Regions from separate parts of the Homo sapiens genome. Here region 1 is linked to region 2. Evidence: promoter capture Hi-C in human tissues and cell types (Jung and others, 2019). All regions are on one chromosome and are shown on one strand. Each heading gives the region's core, a stretch centred on a gene start or on the middle of the fragment in contact. The rest is flanking DNA. Distances are from core to core; before and after follow the strand shown.

Region 1 (4,242 bases), core at 1,099-3,598, 54 kb after region 2:
ACCACACCCAGCTAATTTTTGTGTTTTTAGTAGAGACGGGGTTTCACAATGTTGGCCAGGATGGTCTCAATCTCTTGACCTTGTGATCCGCCCGCTTCAGCCTCCCAAAGTGCTGGGAGCCACCGGCGCCTGGCTGGAATTTGATTTTTAATTGACATTCAATTTTATTCAAAGGCCTTTGGCATTTTTTGGATATTATCATGTTATTTTCTAAGTTGTGATAATTATATTGTACTACTTTTGCAGAGTCATGGCATCTATTTTCTTTTCTTTAAAAAAAAATTATATTATTTATATTAAAAAAAAAAACCTACAGCACCCAATATTCCCAGGTAGTCTCCCATCCAAGTACTAACTGGGCCTGACCATGCTTAGCTTCCGAGATCAGATGAGCTCAGGTGGATTCAGGGTGTTATGCCCTTAGACATGGCATCTATTGTAATGTATTACTGAATTATATTTAAATTTTTGAGATTTTTAATATTAATACTTGCAGTAGATTTGCAGTTTTAATTGTGTTATCTTTGTCAAATTTAATGAAAGTGTTACATTGGATTTATAAATAAATTAAGAGGCGGTGGGTGTGGTGGCTCCTGCCTGTAATCCTAGCACTTTGGGAGGCCAAGGCAGGAGGCTCCCTTAAGCCCAGGAGTTTGAGACCAGCCTGGGCAACATAGGGAGACCCTGTCTCTATTTTTAAAAAATAAAATAAAATAAAATAAAAATAAAAAAAATTAAGAGGTTTTTCCTTTCTTTCTTCAATGAGCTGAAAAATTTAACATCCCTGAAATTATCTTGTCCTTGAAGTTTAAAAGAATCTGTTAAACTGAGCCAAGGGCAAAATTTTCCACTGGAAATACATCATGCAATTAGTTAAATTAAGTTAAAATTGATTAAAATTATTATAATTTTAATTTTTTTTGTAGTGAAAATGACCCACTTTTAGATTTAGCTAATCATAAAATAGTTTCCTATCTATAGGCATGATGCAATAAAAGCTGAAGAAACTGCTTTTCATTTTTAAAAATTATGTACAGGTTGAATATCTCTTACCCGAAATGCTTGAGACCAGAAGTGTTTCAAGATTTGGATTTGTCTTGGATTTTGGAATATTTGCATATACATAAGGAGATGTCTTGGGGATAAGACCCAAATATATAACATGAAATTCATTTATATTTCATATACATCTTTTACACATAGTCTGAAAGTAATTTTATACATTATTTTAAATAATTTTGTGCATGAAGTTTTGACTGCTATCCATCACAAGGTCAAGTGTGGAATTTTCAACTTGTGGTGTCAAGTTGGCTTTCAAGCATTTTTGGATTTTGAAGCATTTCAGATTTTCAGAATAGGAATGTTCAAGCTGTGTTACATTCTAAAAATGTCCTATTCATTTAAGATAAAGCAGCTACTCTTTCTGTATTTCTGTATGTCAGCGAATTATTCCACTTACACCTTATTCCAAAGTCTCCTGACTTTCACACTTACTTTTCCAGTTCCTCCTGTGAGTGTGCAAATGTACAGCTGGCCCCACGAGGGCATCCTCCTCTCTGCTTCATATCTCGACACATGTATGTTTTGTATTTGCTATGCTGTGGAGGCTAAAACCAAAATCAAAACATTAGATGTGTAATAACCCCCCACAAAAAAACATAAATTTTGTGTTGTCATTTTAGGATCTTGATAATCTAGATAAGTAATTCACATATTTATTTAGATTACCAAGAGCAAAAGTGCTGGAAAGTCATTCTGTCTGAAGTTTCAAAGTCCAAATATAAATAAAGCAAAAACAAAGAAGGTAGTCCTAATTTTTCTGATATGTTGATATTAATTCTCAAACAAGTAGCATAATATAAATTCTTGAATAAATCTCATGGGCATTCTTATACTTGTATTATATGGAAAAAGAAAAAGCTCATGGGGACACTATGATCTCATTTCCACTTTTTTTTTTTTTTTTTTTGAGAAGGAGTCTTACTCTGTTGCCCGGGCTGGAGGGCAGCGGCGCAATCTTGGCTCACTGCAACTTCCACCTCCCCGGCTCAAGCGATTCTCCTGCCTCAGCCTCCTGAGTAGCTGGGATTACAGGTGTCCACCACCGCACCTGGCTAATTTTTGTATTTTTAGTAGAGACAGGGTTTCATCATGTTAGCCAGGCTGGTCTCAAACTCCTGACCTCAAATGATCCGCCTGCCTCAGCCTCCCAAAGTGCTTGGGATTACAGGTGTGAGCCACTGTGCCCAGCCCATTTCCACATTTTATAATGAAAAAACAAACCACTGTAGTTTAAGACTTTCAAATATATAAATTATCTTCTAATATTTGTTTTGTACAATGTTCAATATAGCTATATGTATGTTTCCATACAACATACCACAAAAACTACAAAAGGCCCTATAATCAAAGAATATTCTGTAACTAATTCTTCTTGACATGCAGAATAATATATGAAGAACTTAAAATAGTTCCAAAAGTACAAATGACACTTATTATTTATAACTCAAGGATAAGGCAGGAGGATGGATTTGAAAGTTAATGAAATATGAGACACAACACTAAACTGGACAAAATTTAGTGTATTTTATCACTATATGGCAGACTTTAAAGGTTAGTCTCATTACTCTTGTTATTTTCTTCAAGATGTCTAATGAAACAGAGAGTTAAAAACTGTAGGTTCTCCTTTCTTTTATGCCTATTCATAAATAAAGCTTTGACCTGTGTTAGATAGGTTAGGAAAATCATATCCAGATTATTTTACTTAGCAGGATAATTTTTATATTTCTTGCCTCTTAAGCAAAAAGGAATACTGAGTAACCTATTTATATTTACCTGAACCAGGTAAATTAAGAGTTTTACGTTCACAGGCTTACTACTGCAAAATAAAAGATCTAATGAACCTAATATAAATCCTGAGAGCAAAATAAAATTACTGGGAATAAAATTTAAAACTCTAGCTATAAGAAGTTATTATATTCTACCATCGTATTTTCATCTAAAAACTTTGAGGGAGATTTGGCCCAATGGCATAAGACATTATGAATGAAAAAAATCTTAAAATATTAATAAGAAAATCTATAGAAATTTGAACAGTATTGGAAAGACACAGTATTAGCACTAAAAAGTGATACTTATTGTCAAACCAAAATGTTAAACAAACTAAAGAGAATAATAATCTTATATAAATGGAATAAACTTCAGCACTGAATCCATTTTCTCCATCAAATGCTGCCATATCCAATGTGAAGACTGACCCCAGCATGACATCAGATCAATAAGGATTATTTAATGTCAATATTGTCAGATAAAGTTATCAGCCTAATGCAGTAAACTGTTAACCATGCCAAGGTAATTTACAGTTTCTATACTCAGAGTCTCAAAATGTTCATGTTATCTTTTTGGCTTTGTATCTGTAGGTATACCCACAGTGGTTTACCTATAGTTTTAAGGCATATCCACAGTGGGTTAACTCTAAGTTTTAAACAGCTTCCTTACCTGCTGCTGATCTGCTCCTTTTTTGCTGTGGTTCTGGATATAATCAACCAGCCCATGTACCACTGTACGCACAGCAACCAGCCCATTTTCCAGCTGTTCCCAAGTAGGAGGAGGAGCATCTATACAACCAATGATAATGTTTTAAACTCTAATGTTACTCAAAATTTTCCCTAATATCAAATTAATAAAAGAGTTACTTGAAAACATTTCAGTGAAATCAAGCTTCACACCTTAGCTTTTTAGATAATAGCTTATTCACCTAACCATCATTTTAAAGGAATGGACATATTCTTTCAAAGCTGGGGTTGCAAACTGAAATAACCATAGGAACAAGAAAGGTAACATGAAAGAGGTAAATAGGCCACACAATAGTGGTAACTGTCATTAGACTCTCAGTGTTGAGGAGACAACAACGAGTGACAGGGACTGCTGAACTGGGGAGCATGTCCCTCATCTAAGAGTATGGTTATAACTCAGCTTTAGATGATTGTTGTTATGTGATGATGCAAGGCTGGCACTGCCAGATACATTCACTGTTTCCCAGGGAAACCTGAAACTTGAGATTTTTAAGTAAAAATTTCCCAGTTTTAAAATATTGGCATCTAAGAAATTTAGACCATTGCTCAGACCAACACTGTGTGGATTAAACAAAACTGAGGACTGTCTACAGTTAGTCAATTTGCATGTTTATTTTGAACTTTTATATAAATAAAGTTTTGGTAAACAAAAAGCTTAAAAAGTTTA
Region 2 (3,622 bases), core at 897-3,396:
CCCACGCTGGGAGAAAAAAGAATGAGAAGCTTCCTGTTTGTGACATGGAATGTGCATGCCTAAAAAATCGGCTTTAGTGCCCAGTGAAGAGTCAGGGTGGTAGGGGGAGCCATCTACAGAAACTGTTTGGGGAAGGACTCTGATAGATGCAGCAGAGAGATTTCAGCAACACAAGAGAAGTAAGAAGAAATGGATGGAGCAAAGGCAATATCTGGCCGGGTGCGGTGGCTCACGCCTGTAATCCCAGCACTTTGGGAGGCTGAGGCATGCAGATCACTTGAGGTTGGGTGTTCGAGATCAGCCTGGACAACATGGTGAAACCCTGTCTCTACTAAAAATACAAAAATTAGCTGGGTGTGGTGGCGCACACCTGTAGTCCCAAGCTACTAGGGAGGCTGAGGCAGAAGAATCACTTGAACCCAGGAGGCGAAGGTTGCAGTGAGCTGAGATTGTGCCACTGCACTCCAACCTGGGTGACAAAGTGAGACTGTGTCTCAAAACAGCAACAACAAACAAACAAACAAACAAAAACAATGGCAATATCTGTGTGCTGAAGATTCCTACATCTCTAGCTCCAGCCCTAACCCTTCCACTGAGCTCCAGACTGACTATTTGCTGGACAGTTCCACCAGGAACTCCTACAAGTTCTTCAGGGAAACAGGACCAAACTGAACTGGTAATTAATTCTCCCCCACAGGCCTGCTCCTGTGAGTGGGCTCAGTGAATCCCGTACAGAAACCTGAGAATCACCCTGGATTCCTCCCTCTCTCCTCCTCATTTAGTCAAACCCCAGAGTCAATCAGTTCACCCCAGAGTCAATCAGTTCTGTTTTTTTACTCTTTCACCAGTTATTGCCACTGCTTTAGTTCAGGCTCTCATCCCTTTTTATTGCCTGGAATTTTTAATAGTCGCCAACATGGATTCAATGAAGGTAAATGAAGCTAATTTCACATTTTAAAAAAATGAGGTAGTTGGGACACTCGATGAAGCAAATCAAGAGATAAAGTCTCTTGTAATATTTTTTGTAGATAAGACAGGGTGGGGCAGGGGCTGCCTCCAGCTGGTTTATGGTTCCTGCGTGTACACAAGGGGGTCTGTGTGTGGGTACTGGATCTTCCCATCTTCTCCTGGGAGAGAAAGACAGGCACCCAGTGCAGATTCACGGACGTGGTCCGTTGGGCAAGCCTGGGGCTGGCTGGAAGCTGGGGCAGCTGAGGGGGACTTGCCTTCTTGCGTGGTCTGAGTCCAGTTCTGCAGCCCTTTCAAGAACAGAGGTGCAAAGCCGGAGAGAAGCAGCGGCACCAAGGGAGATGTGGAAGGCAGGCTGAAGAAGCAGAGAGAGAGAGGAGAGGACCCTGCCATTCATCTTCCCATCTCCACTGCCTTCGGTTGCCCACTCTGTCCTTCAACTACATTTGGAAATGCAATTTGAGGCTGAGAGGACCCTGGGAGGGCTATGAAGCACAAATTAAAACCAAGACAGTTGTGCCACCACCCCGTTTCTAGCCTCCTGTGACAACTCAGATGAAGAAGGGAGTGTGTGTGGCATTGAGGGAGGGACAACTCTCATTGTGAGAAAAGGAAGCAGTTTTGGCCCTTTAGTCAAAGGTCACTGGGATTTGGGTGGGGGTGGAGTGGGGTGGATCTGAGTGGAAGAAAGAGCAAAAAGGGAGTGAGGAGGTCCTCATGGGTAGCATTTGCTCTCTTCCCGGATGGATGGCAGGCCCTGGGGATTCCCCTTGGAGCGTCCCCTGGATCCCGTGAGTGCTGACTTCCTGCACAGCATCTTTACACCAGGGATGACATCCCCCTTGTTTCTTAGGCTAGGGACCCAAGGGGTAGCTTAGGAAAGGCCTTACCCCAAGAGGTGGGGTGGGAGGGAGAGCACTTGAAATGACGTCTTCCAAACAGGTCTTTGACTGTAACTACCAGGGAGAGGGCCTGGTCTTCTCAAAGGTGTTGGAGGTCATTCCTGTGAGTCCTTTGGAGGTCACAAAACCCAGTAGGGGCAGGCAAGGGGAAAGCTCACCCCTCTTACCTTTTTCCAGAGGTTACAGTTCCTATCACATTGGAATACATGGCCGCTAATCTTCCACAGGGCTGGGCAAGTGGAGATAGTGTGATCTGAGGCAATCCGCCTGAAAACTGGTTCTTTCCTCTAAATCTCGCAGAGGTTCCAGAGGACAGGGTGGGGCAGAGAGCTGGTCAGGAGGGGGAACTGAGGTCAAAGGCTGATGACCAGTTCCCAGGGTTAAGCAAAGTGTAGAGCCCAGTGTTGTTTAATTAGTAGAGAAGTTTTAAAGTTCAATCAGGCCCAGGGAAAGCCTGAGCCACCTCTCTTGCCCACACTCCCTCACTCTTCTCCTCAGCTTTATAGAAAAGGAAAAGGAGAGTATGTTCATACCCTCAAACTTGGTTAGGAAACTAACCAAGGAAACAAACTTGGTTCATACCCACCCTCTCTCATAGTTTTCTTTATGGAGAGAGGGAGAGAGAGAGAGAAATATCTAATTAGAGAAGGCAAAGAGGGACAAGCTGCTACCTTCAGGCATCTGAGTGCCAAGGTGTCCCTGGCACAGACAAGGAAAACACAATGGTTACACCTGTGGCCCACAGAGAGACCCATTCCCCAGCAGCCCTGAAGTGGTGGGACAGGGAGAGAAGAGCAGGGCCTCGGGGTGCATGCCAAGCGCGTTTCTAAGGGGTGTGAGCAGCTGGGAAATACTTAGCAAAACTCTACTGGGGGATCAGGAGACAGAATGCGGGGCAGGTGAAAAACCCACGTACAACTGCTGAAATAAAAACAAACTAAATTATATTTATGTGTATCGTTATTTTTATTAGTTATTGGGGAGATTGGGTAAATTCAAACTAGTGGAGATAAAGGGCAGGTTTGTTTACATTTCCCTCTTCTGAAATAGCCAAAAGCACCATCACAAGGACTGCAGCCACCAAGTTCACAGGGCGCATGTGCCTCCTGCTGTGTGATCAAGGACTCCTTGTAGTTGTTGTTGCAGTCATAGGCATTTTCGAGAGCTCTTCGTTCATGAGAGAGGACATCTCTCCTGAACTGAAGCTGTGTCTAAGTTCTTGGCTGATTCAGACCCTGGATCCTTTGAAGCCCTCCATGTGCAGTGTGAACAGTAGCCGAGAACTGTCCCAAAGGGCCCCAGAATGCCCAGAGGCTCATCTGTCACCCTAGATTAAAGACTATTGAAAAGTCTCCTGTTCAACCACTTGAGTTCAACAAATACACGAGTGCTGCTTGTGCCAGCAGACACTGTTCTTGGGGCTGGGATTCCATTCGGGGGAGACATACAGCAATCACATAAAGAATCAGTATTTTAGGCCAAGCGTGGTGGCTCACACCTGTAATCCCAGCACTTTGGTAGGCTGAGGCAGGTGGATCACCTGAGGTCAGGAGTTCGAGACCGGCCTAGCCAACCTGGTGAAACCCCATCTCTACTAAAAATACAAAAAATAGCTGGGCATGGTGGTGGGCACCTGTAATTCCAGCTACTCAGGAGGCTGAGGCAGGAGAATCACTTGACCCCAGGAGGCAGAGGTTGCAGTGAGCCGAGATCGTGCTATTGCACTCCAGCCTGGGTGACAGAGCAAGACT

The links. Contacts are between HindIII fragments. The study calls those that stand out against the background at their distance.
Region 1: a contact is called between a fragment that was not itself captured here and the fragment with the promoter of SERPINC1 in region 2, in 1 of the 25 tissues and cell types used here (bladder).

Annotation. Positions count from the first base shown.
Region 1 is chr1:173,969,011-173,973,252 of GRCh38, forward strand. It overlaps RC3H1 (ring finger and CCCH-type domains 1), which reads right to left. Exons shown (of 20, transcript NM_172071.4): 8 at 3,499-3,617; 9 at 1,495-1,607. It also overlaps the pseudogene RNA5SP68. Among named protein-coding and RNA genes, the nearest start is that of RC3H1, 51 kb to the right of the region's middle. The HindIII fragment of the contact is 3,252 bases long and covers 723-3,974 here.
Region 2 is chr1:173,915,181-173,918,802 of GRCh38, forward strand. It overlaps SERPINC1 (serpin family C member 1), which reads right to left and starts at 2,147. Exons shown (of 7, transcript NM_000488.4): 1 at 2,039-2,147. The coding sequence starts at 2,079. It overlaps LOC124904457 (a long non-coding RNA gene), which reads left to right and starts at 1,320. Exons shown (of 2, transcript XR_007066739.1): 1 at 1,320-1,760. The HindIII fragment of the contact is 9,559 bases long and covers 1-3,622 here.